7 separate regions of the Homo sapiens genome follow, and regions 2, 3, 4, 5, 6 and 7 are each linked to region 1. The links are contacts of gene promoters, found by promoter capture Hi-C in blood cells and fetal thymus (Javierre and others, 2016). All regions are on one chromosome and are shown on one strand. The core of a region is centred on a gene start or on the middle of the fragment in contact, and the rest is flanking DNA. Distances in the headings are between cores, read along the strand shown.

What was found. Contacts are between HindIII fragments. The CHiCAGO score rates a contact against its expected background, and 5 or more counts as called.
Region 2: the fragment with the promoter of GNA12 here is called in contact with the fragment with the promoter of SDK1 in region 1 in 1 of 17 cell types (fetal thymus); the score reaches 5.8 in fetal thymus.
Region 3: a fragment that was not itself captured here is called in contact with the fragment with the promoter of SDK1 in region 1 in 1 of 17 cell types (activated CD4 T cells); the score reaches 5.1 in activated CD4 T cells.
Region 4: a fragment that was not itself captured here is called in contact with the fragment with the promoter of SDK1 in region 1 in 1 of 17 cell types (fetal thymus); the score reaches 5.0 in fetal thymus.
Region 5: a contact is called between a fragment that was not itself captured here and the fragment with the promoter of SDK1 in region 1, in 1 of 17 cell types (activated CD4 T cells). The highest score is 5.2, in activated CD4 T cells.
Region 6: a contact is called between a fragment that was not itself captured here and the fragment with the promoter of SDK1 in region 1, in 1 of 17 cell types (activated CD4 T cells). The highest score is 5.6, in activated CD4 T cells.
Region 7: a contact is called between a fragment that was not itself captured here and the fragment with the promoter of SDK1 in region 1, in 5 of 17 cell types (non-activated CD4 T cells, total CD8 T cells, activated CD4 T cells and 2 more). The highest score is 10.3, in non-activated CD4 T cells.

What each region holds. Positions count from the first base shown.
Region 1 is chr7:3,299,941-3,302,522 of GRCh38, forward strand. It overlaps SDK1 (sidekick cell adhesion molecule 1), which reads left to right and starts at 1,312. Exons shown (of 45, transcript NM_152744.4): 1 at 1,312-1,944. The coding sequence starts at 1,647. It overlaps SDK1-AS1 (SDK1 antisense RNA 1), which reads right to left. Exons shown (of 3, transcript XR_001744897.3): 1 at 2,289-2,582. RefSeq lists enhancers at 1-391, 392-903, 1,613-2,113 and a silencer at 789-1,338. The HindIII fragment of the contact is 8,975 bases long and covers 1-2,582 here.
Region 2 is chr7:2,843,004-2,845,585 of GRCh38, forward strand. GNA12 (G protein subunit alpha 12) reads right to left here and starts at 1,305. Exons shown (of 4, transcript NM_007353.3): 1 at 850-1,305. The coding sequence starts at 1,158. RefSeq lists enhancers at 612-1,429, 1,392-1,686, 1,669-1,798 and silencers at 779-828, 1,169-1,498. The HindIII fragment of the contact is 20,086 bases long and covers 1-2,493 here.
Region 3 is chr7:3,740,761-3,743,342 of GRCh38, forward strand. The region is part of intron 4 of SDK1 (sidekick cell adhesion molecule 1); the gene reads left to right. Among named protein-coding and RNA genes, the nearest start is that of SDK1-AS1, 390 kb to the left of the region's middle. The HindIII fragment of the contact is 1,187 bases long and covers 683-1,869 here.
Region 4 is chr7:2,869,485-2,872,066 of GRCh38, forward strand. No RefSeq gene overlaps it. Among named protein-coding and RNA genes, the nearest start is that of GNA12, 26 kb to the left of the region's middle. RefSeq lists silencers at 1-166, 1,114-1,333 and an enhancer at 2,140-2,582. The HindIII fragment of the contact is 7,417 bases long and covers 1-2,582 here.
Region 5 is chr7:3,714,242-3,716,823 of GRCh38, forward strand. All of the region lies in intron 4 of SDK1 (sidekick cell adhesion molecule 1), which reads left to right. Among named protein-coding and RNA genes, the nearest start is that of SDK1-AS1, 360 kb to the left of the region's middle. The HindIII fragment of the contact is 1,417 bases long and covers 592-2,008 here.
Region 6 is chr7:3,690,499-3,693,080 of GRCh38, forward strand. The region is part of intron 4 of SDK1 (sidekick cell adhesion molecule 1); the gene reads left to right. Among named protein-coding and RNA genes, the nearest start is that of SDK1-AS1, 340 kb to the left of the region's middle. The HindIII fragment of the contact is 1,392 bases long and covers 606-1,997 here.
Region 7 is chr7:3,670,900-3,673,481 of GRCh38, forward strand. The region is part of intron 4 of SDK1 (sidekick cell adhesion molecule 1); the gene reads left to right. Among named protein-coding and RNA genes, the nearest start is that of SDK1-AS1, 320 kb to the left of the region's middle. The HindIII fragment of the contact is 1,857 bases long and covers 383-2,239 here.

The sequences.
Region 1 (2,582 bases), core at 62-2,561:
CTTTTTTGCCCCTCCTAGCATGGTGTGGAAAGGGGGCAGATGGGAGGCCTCTTTCTGAAACCACCTCCTGTTCGGCGGCTGTACTTGGACCTCAGTTTCCCTGTTTTGTTCACGTGGTCATTGTTAAGTCTTAGGGGACGTGTACAGAGGCTAATATTGAGCCACCAATCAGTTATTTGACAAATACCATAGGCGCTCTGTGAGCAGGAGCTGGCTCCTATCCCAGACCCCAGCCCTGTGACCTGCTCTCCACTCGCCCGGGGTCTTTCTTGGCTGGGACAATAAACCTACTGCATCAGGTGATTCCTGGGGAGTCAGCCCCGTGCTGGGCTCACACCCAGCCCCTCTGCGTTCATCTCTTACATGATCTCATGCGACCATCATCACACGTCCCCAGGCTCCTCCCGGGCCAACTCCAGAGGCAGTGCGTGTCACCTCCAGCTCTCCTCCCACAAAAATGCTGGCCTTTCAGCCTCCAGTGCGCTTAGTTCACCCCATAAACTCTGCTAATGCTTACCACATGCTGAGCGTCGGCGCCCGTCCCCACCCCCAGCCCCACAGGCTCCCGGGTCCCGCCCTGGGAGACCCTCCCACTGGCCGACCCTGCCCCAAGACTCGCCCACTCCACGGTGGGAAACCTGCAATGTGTCCCTCCCTACCCCGCCCTCCTCCAGCGCCGGCCAAAAGTGACCTTGGACGCTTCTACAATGCCATATCCACTCCTCTGAACAGGAGGCGAGTTTGCACCCAGTGGTGCCTTTGGTTGCTAGAAATTAAAAACCCGATTGCGCGTGTTTGCAATTACGGTAACTTGGCGCGTCACCCCCAAGCACTGAGCTAGCTGGTGGTAGCCGGGCGCCTCTCGGGGCGCGCCCTATTCCGCCCTCGGCCCTGGGCTGCCGCACGATCTGCGCGTCCTGCTGCACCTGAGCCCTTCCCACTCGGGCGCCCGCACCGCTGCGGGGCCGGGCGAGGATGCACCACCCCCGCCCGCGAGCCCGCCACGGGAGCGCGTGCCGAATCGACGCCGCCTGCAGTCCCCACTACGGGTCCCTAGGGGGCGCAGCCGGCGCGGGAAGCCGCCCGAGCCAGGCGCCGCGGCCGGCACAAAATTGCAGGCGGGCGGGCGCCGCGACTTTGAAAACAAGCGAGGGCCTGGGGGGCGGGCCCTGGGAGCGGGCGCCGCCTCCCTCGGCCAATCAACGGCGGGCGGCGGGCGGCGGGCGCGGGCGGCGCGTGCGGCCGGGCTGTGAATGGGGAGCGGCGGCCGCGGCAGCTGAGGGCGAGCGCGACCGCGACGTGCGGGCGGGCGCACTTTCTTCTCAGCGCCGGGCGGGGGCGGCGGCGGCGGCGGCTCCTCCGCGCCCGGCGGACCCCTCGGAGCTAGCGCGGCGGGCTCGGGACTGCGTGAGCGCCGGACGCGAATTTCCCCCGTTGACAACTTCTTCTCGCCCGGCTCGTCCCCGGCCCGCGCCGCGCCCCTCACGCGGGGACCCAGGACGCCGCCCCTCAGCGCTGGGCGGCCGCTCACCTCGGGCCGGGGGGCGCCGCGCCTCCCGCGGAGTGGCCGCGCCCGCTCGGAGCCGTCCCGCCTGTCCTGCCCGCCCGTCCGTCCGGCGCGGCGCTCGGGGTGGCGGCTGCTCGGCATGGCCCGGGGCGCCCGGCCCTCGGCGGCCGGTGGCGGCGGCGGCGGCGCGGAGCCCCCTGAGCGCGCGGGCCCCGGGCGGCCGCGGGGATCCCCGCCCGGCCGCGCCCGCCCCTCGCTGGCGCCGCGCCCCGGCCCGGAGCCCTCGCGACCCCGGGCGGCGCCCGAGACCTCCGGCGGGGACACGGCGGGCGCGGGGCGGTGCGGCGGGCGGCGGGCGGCAAAGTTGGGGCCGGGCCGCCGCGGCTGGTGGGCGCTGCTGGCGCTGCAGCTGCACTTGCTCCGGGCGCTGGCGCAAGGTAGGTGCGCGCGGGGTCGCGGGCCGGGGGCGTCGCCTCGGGGCGCGGAGGCGCGAACTTGAGCAGCGAGAGTGTGTCCGGGGTCCCCCCGCTTCCCGGCCCGGGTCGGGATGCGCCTTGCTGGGGGCTCTAGGGAGCCCAGGGGCTCCTCCACGCCAGACTCGGAGGAGAGGGAAACGGAGCCCCGTAGAGCCTGCACCCCGTCTGCTACTTTGCGTTTTATTTTTTTTATACCGCAGTAGCACAAACAAAAATTTTTAAGTTGAGGACCCATTTCTCAGCTCCTTAAAAGGATGCCCGAGTCCCCTTCCCATTGCATGGATGAAAAAGGGGCTGGTCTGTACCTGAGTCTTCGCACCGCAGGGTCTGGTTTCCGGTGAGTGACATCCAGAAGACTTGGAAATATCAAGTGCCAGTCGCTGTGAAAAGCCTTTTCCAGCCCCTCCCCAGGGCCTCGTCCTCTCCCCAGCCCCCGCCTGCTCCTGACTCCCCCAAGTCCCAAAGCCCGACCCCAAGTGGGTGCTGCGCGGCCGGTGGAGCAAAACTTTCAGTGCCCACAGCTTTTGCACTTGGCTTTGTTTTTCTCCCTCTATTGGCTTCTGTTTAGAATACAGTGGTGAGCTCTGAAATAGGGAAAG
Region 2 (2,582 bases), core at 55-2,554, 460 kb before region 1:
GTATTAGAAAGTGTGGCTCACACCTGTAATCTCAGCACTTTGGGAGGCCCAGGTGGGAGGATGGCTTGAGACCAGCCTGGGCAAGAGAGTGAGAGCCTTTCTAAAAAAACAGAAAAGTAAAAAGAGACTCATGGCTGGTTCCCGTCCAGTCTCCACTGCTCTTCTTCTAAGCTCAGCCGGAGGGCACGGCCGGTTGGGCTCCTATCCCACAAATCTTCCAGTGGGAAATGGACAGATACCATTCTGCTAGGGCACATCCAGGAGGGGGCTAAGTGCCAAGCCCCCACTCCCCATCCCCAGAAGCTGGCCCGAGTTCCCACTCCCACGGTCCCCAGGCACCCTAGAGAGGGCAGAGGCAGACCGGGCGCCATGACTCATGCCTATAATCCCAGCACTTGAGGGAGACCAAGGCAGGAGGATCACTTGAGGCCAGGAGACTGAGACCAGCCTGGGCAACACAGCAAGACCCCATCTCTACAAAAAAAAACTTAAAAATTAGCTGGGCTGGTGGTGCGCGCCTGTAATCCCACTACTTCGGGAGGCTAAGGAGGGAGTAGGGCTTGAGCCTGGGAGGTCGAGGCTGCAGTGAGCTGTGAGGGCGCCACTGCACTCAAGCCTGGGAAACACAGCGAGACCCCATCTCAAAAAGGGCGAGACGGGGTGGGGCAGAGACGACGCCAGCAGGCCTCGGGGAATGGGTCGGGGGGGAGTGGGGTGCAGGCGGGGCTGGATCCAGCATCCTCGCCCCAGGGGTCCCCGCCCGCGGCGGCGGACCACGGAGGGGCCCGGGGCGGGGGTTAGCGCCCCGGCCCACCTGGGTGCAGGTGCTGGGCGGGGGGCGCGCGTCACCTTGAGGATGTTGTCGAAGATGGTGTCGCGGAACTCCAGCAGCGCCTTCTGGTCGAACTCGCGGCCGTGGATGATGCGCATCTGCTTGAGGAACGTGGACTTGCCGCTCTCGCCCGCGCCCAGCAGCAGGATCTTCACCAGGCGCCGGACCGCGCGCCGCTCGCGGGCCAGCAGCGCGTCGATGTCGCGGCTACGCCTCCGGGCCTCGCGCTCCGCGTCGCGCGCGCCGCTGCCCGCCCTGCGCTCGCGGGCCCCGCCGGCCTCGGCCGGCAGCAGGCAGCGGCTGAGGGTCCGCACCACCCCGGACATGGCCCCTCAGGCCGCGGCCGCGCCCCGCCGGCGCCCGGGGGCCATGGACGCTCCCGCCGGCGAGGGCGAGCCCGGGCCGAGGCACCGCCCCACGCCCCGCCGCTCGCCTCAGGCCGCGTCCGCCGCCGCCGCTGCAGTCGCTCCGAGGCCCGCACTCGTCGCCCGGCCGCCACTCGGGCCCGGCGGAGGGGCGGGCGGCGCCGCGTGAGGCCCGGCGGATTGGGCCGGCTGCCGTCCATCTGGCCGTGAGAGCCCTTCGATTGGCTCATCTCGCCAAGGGAGGCGGGCATCCCTTCCGGCCTCGGGGCGGGGTCGACGCCGAAAGAGGCGGGATCTTTGAGGTGAAGGCGCTTCTCATTGGACGCCCAGGCTGAGGTTCTTTCTTTCAGAATGAAAGGGAGGCGGGGTCGCCCGGGAGGCGGAGCGATCGTCCGCCATGGCCAATTATAATTGCTCTGAGTGGACATCAGACGTGCCCAACGGGCTTTGGATTGGGTGTTCGGGGGACGGGGCGTGACGAGAAGTGCCAGGTGTACAGAAAGATTCTCCCTTGGTTCCCAGATTGGGTCCGCCTGTGAGACCAGGACCTCGCGGAGTAGCCCAAAGGCTGGGAAATGCTGATAAGAGGTTCAGCTGCTCGTCGTATTCCCTCCGATGATCTTGTTTCTACACTATTTTCCTTCCAGAAACACTGGAGGGGGATGGGCCATAAATTTCAAACACATGCACCCTTTGAGAGTGGCATGGGCTTCTAGGAGGCTTTGCGAAAAGCTGACTAATCACTAAAATCACCAGAAGCTCCCCCAAAAGTCTTATGTCTCACAGTGATTGAGAGAGTGGGGTCTGGAGTTGCTGGGCCTGAGTTGGAATCTCCAGTCGACCAGTTACTAGGTGTACTAGTTGCATAACTTTTTTTAGCAGCTTTCCCCACCCCCCCCAACAAACCCTTTTGGATGTTCTTAGCTTCCGTTTCCTCATCTGTAAAACGGGGGTGTCATTGACGACATTGGTTATGGCTTGACATTGCTCAAATCGTCATGAAGATATAAACTGAGAACATGAACTTACCAAACACTTAGCACGTGAGCTAGCCCAAAATCAGCTCTTGATAGAGATCAGCTGATTACAGATTCTTGACTCTCCCAGATCTACTGAATCAGAACCTCCTAGAAGGAGCTCAGGTATCCCTTAAGATTAAAGGCGTGAGCCGCCGCGCCTGGCCCAGTGTGTAGTCTTTTATCTCTCGCCACCCCCCACCTTTTACCCTGAGTCCCCAAAGTCCAATCTCTGTGCGGTGTCTGTTAACTCTGCTGATTATTTCTTTTGCAGTGCCGAAGCTTTTTAGTTTAATTAAGTCCCATCTATTTATCTTTGTTTTTGTTGCATTTGCTTTTGGGTTCTTGGTCACAAAGTCTTTGCCTAAG
Region 3 (2,582 bases), core at 26-2,525, 440 kb after region 1:
CTTAGATTGTTGCAAGCCTTTGATTAATTTTTAGAGTTCCAAAAATGTTGATTTCACAATTTTTGTCCATGTTCTCATTGATTTTATGAAGGAGATGATTTTCAGAGACTTTTATTCTGCCATTCCTGAGGTCCTTCTTTTCTCAGATGACATTTTGTGGTTCATAGCAACCATAGAAACATTCTGTAGTTCATCAGGTGTGGACACAGGGAAGGGTCACTTTGTATAGAAAGGCTATCAGGGACCTATCCTTGTGATTAATCTACCTGTTGCCTCCCTCTGGAGCCTCATGGAATGTGGTGTCTGTGGATTATAGAAAACTTGGCTTCCTTGGCCACATCTCCTTGAAAATTCCATCCTGCCACCTCCTGTATACCAAGTGGATGTGCTGAGCACTCTCTGAAGTGCTAAGAAATATGTCAGAGAGCTTGCTGGGACAGTCTTTCCCTCTAACCATGGGACTGGCCAGTGTGTTTTGAGTTTTTCCAGCCAATTTTTGGAGTAACCAAAACTTTAGGAAGGCCCTGTCAGCCCACCTCCCTCACTGGCACACTAAGCAGGAATCCCCAGCCCCCTGTTCTCCCAGCTCCCAGGGGATGCTCTTCATCTTTGCTCTGTGATCCTGCAGTGGTCTCCTTGTGTGGGAATCGTGCACCCCACTGGCCATGCCATATCTGTGTGAAGCTTATTTTAGCTGTCCTAATCAGAGCATGATTAAAACAATTGATTTTTAAAACTGTTGTGTATGTATTTTATCTGTGTTATTCTTGAATATTGGATTCATATTAAATAGTAGTTTGCCCTAATTAACTTTAATACTACAGATTTGTGCTTTTTGAACTCAGCATGCAGATTTATGTAAATTGCATAAAGCCTTTAAGCTAGGAGTGTATCATTTACATTTACAATCCCATTTATCCCATGTCTCCATATCACTGACTCTTCAAAGAAAGACAGGAACTATTGGGATGGACGTACTTGATTGTTTCAGTTTCACTCCTGTGCAAACCAAAGAACAAGTAGTAAATGACTTTTCCACATAAACACACACATTCACACACACACACATAGATGCTTGTGTGTATATACGTGTGTGTGGACCTATCTTTGGATGCTCATATATGTGCACTTAGAGAATCAAAAGCAATATCCAGGTATCTTGACCATAAGCCCAATACCCTGTCTATTTTTTTGAGTGGCAATTTGTGTTCCCATATTGTAGTGTGCATATATATATATATATATATATATATGCTGTATTTTTAAACTGATTTTAGAATTAGCGCTTAAAATAGAAAAGACAGAGCACAAATTTGGGGGGGGAGCAGTTTAAATTTTGTTTTCATACATCTGGTTGTATTAAATTCTCTGTTCCTCTTTTTTTTTTTACCCCCATTTCTTTGCCCTTCTTTCTTCCCTTTCCTCCCCAATGTTTTCCGTATCTCTGGCAAAGTTCATGACATAAAGGGCTGTAAGAGATCAGATTATGTTACCCCAAAACACACCACTCTGGCATACAGATTACATTGAGCTGAAAACAGTTAAGAAAAAGACACAAGATGAGCTCTCTGCCTTTTCCCGTCTGCCTGAAACATAAAATTTTCCTTGTGAACGTGTTCCTCCCAGCTCTACTTCCGGTAAGGAGAATTTCCCAGAAAAGGAGTAACAGCCTCATTACTGGAGATGAGAGGACACCAGAAAGGGCTTACACAAACCAGCCCTAGGAGCCAGCCATCATCTCCCATCAGTTTCTCCCGACATTTGCATATTTGCCTTCATACAGTCTGCCACCCCTAGAAGTTCAAAGTCCATTTCCTTTGCCATGTCACTTCTCTTTAGCATTTTTGTCTTTTTTCCAAATAGTATAAAAGCTTCCAAGCACAGCCATTCTTATGAAGTCCTCCTCCCACCCCTTTCTGTGTAAAACTTTTAACACCAAATAAAATTATATACTTTTTATTCCCTGTTTGTCTGCCTGTTGTCAGTTTATTTCACAGACCCAGTCACAGAACCAAAGAGGGTGGAGGAAAGTTTTTCCTTTCCTACAAGGTCAGTGTCCTTTTGGATAGAGGTCGAATGGATCGGTTATTGGAAAAGAAACCCACAGAGAAATATGTTAGAAAGGAATTTTTGCAAGCAAAGAACCAAACAAACAAATAGCAAATTGTACGTCATCAGTGGAGACTGGTTTTCTACCAGATGAATGACCCTCATTAACATGAGGAAGCATGTATGGATATTCAGTACACATGGTCCTACTTATTGATAGGCATGAATTTGATTGTACGGAACTTTCCTGGAGCAATGTACGTGTTGTGTGTCAGGAAAGGCTCTGTTCAGGAATGCGATAGGCCTTGGGTGCCTTGAATGGGAGAGTAATACGTAAGCAGACCAACTGATGGGAAAAGTCTCAATATAGAGGTAAGAGAGGGTGGGGAGACTCATGTGAGGGGTAGTTTAAAAGAGGCAGTCTGTTAAGCTTATGCCTGGACGTAAATAGCAGATGAATTTGGAGTTAGAAGAAGTTTCTTGGCTTTCTTGGTGAGGTTTGAGACTCGGGTTCTGTGGCGGTACAGTCTTGC
Region 4 (2,582 bases), core at 27-2,526, 430 kb before region 1:
GAAGCAAGGACCTTCTTCATAAAGTGGCAGGAGGGTGAAGTGCTGAGTGAAGCGGGAAGAGCCCCTTGTAAAACCATCAGATCTCCTGAAAACTCAGCCACTCTCACGAGAACAGCTTGGGGGAAATCTATCCCCGTGACTCAATGACCTCCACTTGGTCTCTCCCATGACTCAGTGGAGATTATGGGGATTACAGTTCAAGATGAGATTTGGGGCCGGGTGCGGTGGTTCACACCTGTAATCCCAGCACTTTGGGAGGCCGAAGTGGGCAGATCACTTGAGGTCAGGAGTTCGAGACCAGCCTGGCCAACATGGCGAAACCTTGTCTCTACTAAAAATACAAAAATTAGCCAGAAGTGATGGTGCGTGCCTGTAGTCCCAGCTACGTGGGAGGCTGTGGCAGGAGAATCGCTTGAACCCGAGAGGCAGAGGCTGCAGTGAGCCGAGATCACACCAGCCTGGGTGACAGAGCCAGACTCAGTCTCAAAGGAAAAAAAAAAAAGATGAGATTTGGGTGAGGCGCAAAGCCTCACCATATCAGTCTCCACCCAGGAGAGTCCACCCTGCCTGGAGGAGAAAGAGGGCGCTGGGCTGTGGTGGCCCCGTGTGTCCCAGTGGAGGGGTCTGTCTGCCATGGGCAGGAGTGCGCCCCCCCTGCACAGAGGGCTACAGCTCAGAGGCGAGGCGGGGATCGGACCTAGTGAGAGCTGAGCGCCTGGTCTGGGCCCTGTTGGGCTTGGTGAGCCACTCTGTGGCTTTTAGTGATACCTGAGCCAGCAGACCTTACCTCTGTGCGCCAGGGGTGCTTTGTGGGGTCCGATGCTGTTCACACCCTGCGTCCTCCCGTCCTGTCCGGGTCCCCCTTTCCCACGTGCACAAGGAGTGGCTGACGGTCTCCCAGGACTCCCCCACCACCCCCTACACACTCCACTTCAACTCTGCAAAGGCAGCACCCTTCCCTGGAGTGTGAGACCCTCCCTGCCTGCCCCTCTCTGCCTGAGCAGGACAGGAAGCTATTGAGCCCCTGTGAAGCTCTAGGCCAGGTGCCTGGAGTCAGCGATGAGTAAGAGGAGGCAGGGCCTGCAGCCCTCGGAGGCCCAGGACTTTAGGGAACTCATTAGAGAGACTCATTTCGTTACCTGTGTCACTTTGGTCATCTGGGAGGCAGACGTCAAGACAGAAGAAATGAGCAAGAGATTGATGAAACGCAATGCCCAAGCAGGATACAGGGAGAGGATGCAGGGTGGGCGGGGACCAACTTCCAACCGTGACGCAGGGCTTGTGTTTGCCAGAGGAGAAGAGGAAGGAAGGAGGGTTAAGTGGGAGGAGCCCCAGGCTGCAGTGCAGCTGTGAGAAAGTCCTCTCCAGGCCCACGGGGAGCTCTAGCAAGGTCCCGGGTGGGGCAGGAGCTGCCAGGCCCCAGGTGCTACTGCATTCCTGTGGAGGGTGACTCTGGGAGGGAAAGCAGAGCCGTGCACCTCCAGGGCCACCCCGACGGTGACACAAAGGCTGATGTGACACATGCATCAAAGCACTGACCAAATGCCGGGGCCGGTGGCTCACGCCTGTAATTCCAACACTTTGGGAGGCTGAGGCGGGTGGATCACCTGAGGTCAGGAGTTTGAGACCAGCGTGGCCAACATGGTGAAACCCCATCTCTACTAAAAATACACAAATTAGCAGGGCGTGGTGGTGCCTGCCTGCAGCCCCAGCCACGGGGAAGGCTGAGGCAGGAGGATCGCTTGGACCTGGGAGGCGGAGGTTGCAGTGAGATGAGATCGCACCACTGCACTCCATCCTAGGCAATGGACCGACCAAGGGACTGGGGTCAGGGAGCACCGACCAAGGGACTGGGGTCAGGGAGGCTTCCTGGAGAGGGCTGACACCTGAGACATTTCCAGTGTAAAGGAGATGGGGGCTGAGTGTCAGAGGCCAGGGCTTATGCAGGGCCCCGAGGTGGATCATCTCTCTGGGACTGGATGAGGACAGCATCACAGGCGCAAGTTGAGGGCAGGACTCATGGCTTGCGGGCGCAGTGAACGTGACATGGGCCAGGCTTGCAGAGCCCGAGGGTTGTATTTGGGACTCTGGTCCTGTGTCCCAGCCCACTTTGATTCCAGTGGGCAGACCAGCTCAACCCAAACCCCTGCCACTGGCTGAACGCTCCCTGGGGCCCTGGGTCTACCACCTGCCTTGGGAATGCTGCCTGAGCTCTCTCTCTCTGGCATTCTGACCACTCCTGCCAGATACAGCTCGATCTGTGCCTTTGTTCTAGCACTGATTTTTGTTCCTGCATGGAGAGCAGGCTTGCCTGTCTCCACAGTTAGGCTGGGGCCATGGTGGGAGGGGATCTGCTTATTCATTGCCTGATTATTCATTTTGAGGTCTGGTAGAGTGGGATTCTCAGGGAATGGGTGCCTGCCCCAGGATGAGGTTCAAGAACCTTCTCTCCAGTGCAAGGTTTGGAGAAGGTCCAGGTGAGCAGGGGTCTGGGGTCTGAGTCCAGAGTGACCCTAAGCCAGCAGCATCCCCCAAGAGCTTATTAGAAACACAGATACTCAGGCCTCAAGCCCAGACCTGTA
Region 5 (2,582 bases), core at 50-2,549, 410 kb after region 1:
GATCACTCCTTGTGTAGCCAGACCCGTTGCTTAAAATCTCTGAACTTCCTTATTGTAAAATATGAAGGAAAATCATTACTATTCTTAGAATTAAATATTTGTGAAAGGAGCTTTAGAATGATAGAAGTACCATAGGGATGTTATTATCTTTTTTACTCTCTTTTCAACCTGTCAATTACCTGTTTAAATATGAACTAGTTATTCGCCCTTCCAGAGTCTCAGTTTCCTCTTAAATTAAGAATAATAAGTTTATCCCATTTGCTCATTTCACATCAGTCCTTTAAGTGCTTTGCATTTTGTTACATCTTATGTAAGTGGTGATATTAGCATTACTACATTGTAACACAGTACACAACATCTGAAAATGGTCCTGAGGCCTTCAAAGTTTAAATGTCGTTTAATACACTTTATTGAAGCAGGTACAGAACTGCTGTGTAATTAATTTCAAGACACTTATTTTCTCTCAAAAGTGCTTCTAAAACAAGTTTCCATGCTTGAAGCGTTGAGTGTCAAGTATCTGGGAGATTTGCTTTTGTAGGACGGTTCATTTCCCACTTGTGCCAGAATGAGTCATTTTGTGTGTAAGTGTCAAGCTTGGAGAGGTTCTAATTAAGTGCAAATTACAATGAAATTAATAAATGACACCAATTTTTAGATTTTAAAATGTGCTTTGAGAGAATGCAATGTGGGCTTAGATTGATGGTAATTCTCATATTTTAAGTTGTGATTCAATATTATGTAGCATTAAAACTCAATTAAGTAAAAAATAAATGAAGAATCAAGTAGAGAGAATACTCATCTCTCAGATGCCTCAGCTTCTCCAATGATGGCTTAAAATCTGTTAAATGCTAAGGTTGTAATTGTCCTTATTGTTCACTATATTCCAAAATAATTGCACATATAATTAGCTTATTTAGTGAGAGATACTAAATCACCCTGTTCACAAATATACTAGATCGTCATAAATTGTACAAATGTAATTGTAAATTTAAGGTTTTATTTTACTTTTTGCAGATGAGCTGCAGACTATATATAAATTCATGTATGTATCCACTTACCAGAAATTTTATTAAATCAAAATATATTTGACCCAGCATTTTCCGATCCGTTTACAGTGGGAGAAGGTAGGCTACGTAGGTTCTTCCCTCCTCAGGTGGCACTAGTCAAGACTGACAGAGCCACCAGCAACTGATAGCCCAAAGATATCCTCTCAGCCTACCGAACCAGACACCCCTCACCTTCTACCTGGTGATGCAGGGAAGCCCAGGGAAGTGCGTTCTGTCCCACAGGAGGCAATAGCAGGGATAGAGAAGGATCCCCAGACCCTACAGAACAAAGGAGACCAGGACAGCTCTGAAAAACACATTATCATTGGAACTACAGCCCAAAAAAGTAGGCAAAGTCCTATACCCTAAACCCATCAGGCAACTGCCATCTAAAATAAAAGATTTAAATAGGACAAGGAGTCTTAACATAATATCGAAAACGTCCACAGAGAATGGAAAATTACTGAACATACAAAGAACAAGGAAAAATCACAACTTGAATGAGAAGACACAATCAACTGAGGCCAAAATTGAAGTGAGTCAGCTGTTGCAATTACCAGACAAGGATTTTAAAGCAGCCATCATAAAAGGGCGTCAGCAGCAAACTATTCATTCTCCTTGAACAAATGAAGAAATAGAAAAATCTCAGCAAAGAAGAAGAAATTATTTAAAAAGTGAAAGTGAGTGAATTGAAACATTCCATAACCAGAATTAAAAACTAGCAGGATTAGCTCAGTAATAAAGTGGAGAAGACAAAGATAGATCGGTGAATATGAGGATAGATCAATAGAATTTGCTCAGTCTGACCAACAATGAAAAAGGTAGACAAAAAAAAAAAAAAAATGAACAGAGGCTCCTGTGAGGCTGTAACCAAAGATCTAACTTTAATTTTATTGGAGTTCTAGTAGGAGATGAGAAAGAAAATTGGGACTGAAAAAGCATTCAAAGAAATAATAGGTGAAAGCTTTCTAAATTGGGGGAAAAAAAAAACTCCACAAGCCTACAGATTCAAGAAGCTGAATGAATCACAATAGACCCTAAGAAATCAATTTGAAGACACTTAAACTTCTGTGTTGAAAATAAGTAATTTCTGAAAGCTAAGGAAAAATTAGAACTCTGAAAAAAATCTGTCAACCATGAATTCTGTATTTGGCAAAAATATCATTCAAGTATGAGGGGAGGCCACGTGTTATCACGTGTAATATCAGACCTGTAATCCCACCACTTTGAGGGACATTGATGAGGGAGGATTGCTTGAGGCCAGGAATTTGAGGCCAGCCTGGGCAAGGTAGTGAGACCCCATTGCTACAAACAAATCAAAAAATTAGCCAGGCGTGGTGCACACCCCTGTAGTCCCAGCTACTCAGGAGGCTGAGGTGGAGAACTGCTTGAGCCCAGGAGGTCAGTGCTGCAGTGAGCTATTACGGCGCCATTGCACTTCAGCCTGGGTGACAAAGTGAGACCCTGTCTCACCAAAAAAAAAGAAAAAAAAAAAAGAAAAAGGAAAAATCAAACTAAGGAAAAATCAGATAATGT
Region 6 (2,582 bases), core at 52-2,551, 390 kb after region 1:
ACCCACTGGATAGCTTGTACCTTTTGCTGGCATTTAGGATAAAGAGAAACCCAATAAATCTTGCGTCGAGTGGCCTCACTGATATTGATTGAATTATAAGATCATAGTATAGCTTTTACAGATAAGTCACCAGGAAGACATCACACAATGTTGTTTATAGAAAGTAAGAAAGCAGGTCTTCTTTTGTAAGATTCCATATTAATCTTAACCCCCGTAACATTATACTGATATATTTTTCAAGTTGATTATAACTCTCTACTACAAGGTCAAAATAAACCTTATATTAATAAAAACCATATGACTTGTCTTTAGACATCCAAGAAAATTTAAAAGTAATACTTTGCGTGTATATAAGAACTTTCATAATAGACAGTCTCAAAACACTTCAGAAATAAAATACACTCATATTATAGCCTGGATGTCTATAGGCATTCACTGGGCTAATGTTTCCTTCCAGGACTCTGTGACCTTCTAGAATTACTCAAAGACAGTGTGTTTGCCCTCACTGGTTGATTTTGTCCTTCAAAGAAAATTATTTGGAAGAAAAAATTTTCAACTTATTAGAGAAAAATACTCATTTCTCATTTTCTTATCATTTGACAGGAAGCTTACCAATTTATTGTAGATAATTACACCAATGTTTCATTCCTTAGAATCACCTTTCAACATGAATTCAAATGTATACGAAAAGCAATAGAGAATTCTGGACTTTAGATTTGCAAGAAATAAAAAGGCTCCAATTTTCTTAAGTTGTTATGATTACCACAGAGTAAAAAATGCCATAGAATGAAAATGTCTTATGTTGATAGGAAGAGGTCAGGGCTCTTACTCGAAGTACAAGATAAATCACAGGCTTAATTTTGGATCACAGTGGACCCCTCCCTCCACTTCAGCTGTGGAAATACAAAGAAAAGAGTTGCATTGAAGAAACAACTGGAGTCCAAGTAGCACTTTGCTTCCGTTACAGGACTTGGAGCATGTTATAAATGGCTCAAAAAGTAGGATACTCTCTCCCCTTTTCAGGGATCTGTATAAGGAGGCAGTCATATTCAAAATACAAAGTAGAAGATAAATGTTTTCTGCCGGCATGATATTTTAAAAGGAAAAATATGATTATCTACCATGATGCATTGTGAACTGATATTATTGATTTTTCCTCTTGTGACCTTGGTTGCACAGCACCAACACAAACACACACCCCTTGCTGGAAGGTCTAGTTTCAGGTGTGAATGCGTAGAAGTCAGAGATTTAAAAAATAGGGGGCTTGTAGTATTTGTTTTTGCCTTAATTAAGAGTTAATACTTGGCTTATCTACTTACTCATTCAGACAGCGTGGGTTGAAAATGTATTATAAGGCAGGTAATGTGAGGCAATGGGGGTGTCTTTAAGAAGGTAATAGCTTATCTGAGCCTTTTATCCTGCAGGATTCACTATGACCTTGCTTTTCCACTCCCCTCCCGCTGGGTCTTTCAGTCTGTCCCCCTTTATTTTTGCTTACTCATTCATGAGTATTCATTAAACTCCTACAATGTACCAGGCACTCAGAATATAGCTGTGAGCAAGACGGTTATGCTTCCTACTCTCATTTAGCTTATAATTGAGTTGGAAGACAGACATTAAGTAAATACTTATATTAATAATTTTATTGTAATTATGATTTCTGTTCAGAGACCCAACATAATTTCAAGTTTCCATTTTTTCTTAAAAAATTCTTTCTGATTCTAAAACTTTATAGACAACTAAGAAAAAAATAGGAATAAATCAGGAAAAAGTAACCTAAGATATCCCACCAGCCCAAAATAACTTGTTACTATTTAAAATGCTTTTTCTTGCACTTTTCTTTAGTGTGTATATGTGTGTGTCTGTGTGTGTGCACCTGTGCCCATGTGTATTTAGAATTTGGGATCATACTATATAGTTAGTTTTGCTATTCTCTTTAAATGATCATTAAACAGAGAGGATTTCTTATATTACATATTTTTCAATAACATATTTTAAGCTTGTTGAATAATTTGTATTTTAGTTATGTAGCATAAATTATTTGTTTATTTGGGTACATTTCAGTTATGTCCTTCAATTTTTGTGCTTATTTAAACTGATGTGATAAAAATATAAACTCTTGGCTACATGTTTTATTTAGTCTACTAGATAATCTAGAATTGGAATTACTTGGTCAAAGGGTATAAATATTTTTGAGGTGATTCATATATTTTATGAAACATTATAGAATATTTATACTCTTTGATCTATTCAATGTAATATACAATATGAAACATTCCCCTGTATTCTAGAATCGCATCGATTTATACATGCCTTCAAGTGGTATTTGTGTCGAGTTTACGTATCCTTGGCACCATCGAGTATTGCACTGGCAAATACATTTCTATTTTAATTATATATTAATATGATAGATAAAGGTAGCATCTTGGTAATTTAATATTTTCATTTATATATCATCCAGTAGTATTTCACGTGTGTACCTGTAATATTTGCCAGTTTTCTGTTGAGATGATAGCCTTTTTTACAAAATAAATGAACATATTTTAGACATATAATAAAATTTTAGATGCCATATTATATAT
Region 7 (2,582 bases), core at 61-2,560, 370 kb after region 1:
CTTTTTTAGGAAACCTTCTTTGATTCCTACAAGGACAGGTCGTCTATTATTTGTTCTTACAGCACATCCTGTAACTTTTTTTTGCCATAGTTACCACGATTACAGTTAAAACAGTTCATTGCATAACTAGTTCCTTGAGGTTTGTTTCTCCTATTGGGCTCTAGGCCCTTGGAGGACTGGGACCTCAAGGCGGGGGGTGTCTTGCCTTACCCCTGAGTTTTCAGCATTGGTCTTATCCAAGTCATTACTCAGTATATTTAGAGGAGACAAGAAACACTGAACAGGATCTGGTTTGGACTTCGTGTCTGTTTCTGACTTTAAATGTCAAGTCACTTCCTCTCACTGTCTCTTCATTTCTTCATCTTGTAAATTCAGAAAATTAAGCTTAATGTTCTCTAGAATTCCATCGGCCTCTACATTGTGTGAGTCTAGCCCATCAGGGACATTTTTTAAACCAATTTTTAAATATTTATAGTCACAAATTTAAGAAGGAAATGGAATCAATGTACATCTCCCCAAAGACAGAGTAAAATACTTTGTTGCTCATTGAATGAAGCTCTGGTCATTACCCTTTTTGTTATTATGATTCCTAATTTGTAAGCTCTGATGTTATCCCTTCTTTCTCAATATAGCTGAGACAAATGTGTAGTCTGTATGATCATATCATTGCTGTTATACCTATTTACAAGTTTAAGACTGAGTCAATAGAAAAAAATCCAAGTGAAGAGTGTTTAAAATAAACTTGTGTTTCTCCAGGAAGTTAACTAATCAAACACTTTTCATTGTAGATGTTGTCATTCAGTACAAAATAATCCCTGAGACAGTCTCATGAAAAACCTAATGCATTTTTTGGTGAGTTTTATAATGAGATTAAAAAGAAATTAAGAGCAGGAAGTGAAATTATAACGCCAGTGGGAAATCTTTGAAACCATTTTATAGTTTTTTCCTTCTTATGTAATATGTCTGTGAGATTGGGCAGGTTTTTGTTTGCTTGCTTGCTTATTGTTTGTGTTTATAATGTGGAGGAATCAGCTGAACTTGACTTATCCCTTTACAACTGATCCATGCCTACACAGTAGTTGCTTGGAGCTAAAAGCAGGAACACATGGACCCTGAGGCATAGCTGCTCTGAAGTCCTGGCGGCCTCTGGGAGGGCTTATCCATGATATGGGACACAGGGTCTCCTGAGGTCTTGGAGGAGTTTTCCTGGTAACTCTGAGGAGTGGCGGGTCATGGTGTGGTGACCATTGGTCTAACCTGAAGGACTATAGGAATGAGGGCAGGGAGAATTGTAGGGAGGCAGCCGATGCTGCTGGTGAGAATGAAAACATCCTCAGAGTGGCTTCCATACCCATCCTGTTTCTGTAGTGCCCAGTTATTGTGAATACCCATCACACGTTATTCTATCACAGCAAGCAGCTCATCTACCCTACTGCACCCCCAAGTTCTTGAAGTGTCTCTCTGTTTCTTGCCGTTACTGGAGGTAAGCCAACATGAAAGATGAAAGCTGTGTTTATACTTCTACTGCAAACTCTTGAGGAAAAAAACAGAGGCATTAGCCAAAAGAGATAGGACATACAGGCAAAGAAGAAAGATGAGCTGGAAACCAGTACCTAAATAAGTCCAAAAGCAATCTATTTATAGATCCCAGAGTGAGATCGATAAAGGAGATGATGTGGAGAAATATATATATATAATATATATATTTATATAATATAATATATAATAATATATATTAAATATATATTAAATAAATATTAAATTTATATATAAATTTGTTATTAAATAAAATTTATATTAAATAAAAATTAAATTTATATTAAATAAAAATGTAATATATATTTTTATAATATATAATTTTATATATATATATATATATATATATATATATATATAAAAAATACAGAAAGCTCTAAGTATGCACAGATCACACTTTTGCCAAAATAGGCACCTACAATGAGGGCCCCATCCCCACCCTTGAGGGTTTGGAGTGATCTTTGGGTAAAAGCTCTATTCTAACTCTTGAAATGGTTAAACTTTTTCTAGATGCATCTTTTAATATTACTTCCTCTTTTATTCCTTTTTTCTATTTTTTTTAAATAAGCATCTTTGCTTTACTTCTTTTAGCTATGAAGCAGCTCTTGCTGATAGTAAATAAATACTTAAAGTATGAAGATACTTCCTTGTAGCATTTGACCAATTTGTAAGGCAGCGGTTCCTCAATTTCAGTGATGCACCAAGCTTTTCCGAAAATGAGTTCCAAAGGGAATTGATTTTTATCTGCAATACTCTCATCCTACAGACAGGATATTGACTACACTTGATAGAATGGAAGTGTAAATCCAGAATGAAGCATTGCAGGAACAAATCCCATGGGGGCGGTTCATGATCAACAGAATCATTCATTGGACGGAAAGATCGGAGAGCTAGACAGTGTCAATAGAGACAAAAGGGGAAATAAAAGCATTCATTTCCTGAAAGAGTCTTTTCCTGGAAGGTTTTTGTTGACTGGCTCTTCCTTTTAGTATACTCTCTATTCCTAGTTGTTTATCAGCTTATGTGAGAACCTTAAAACTCATAAT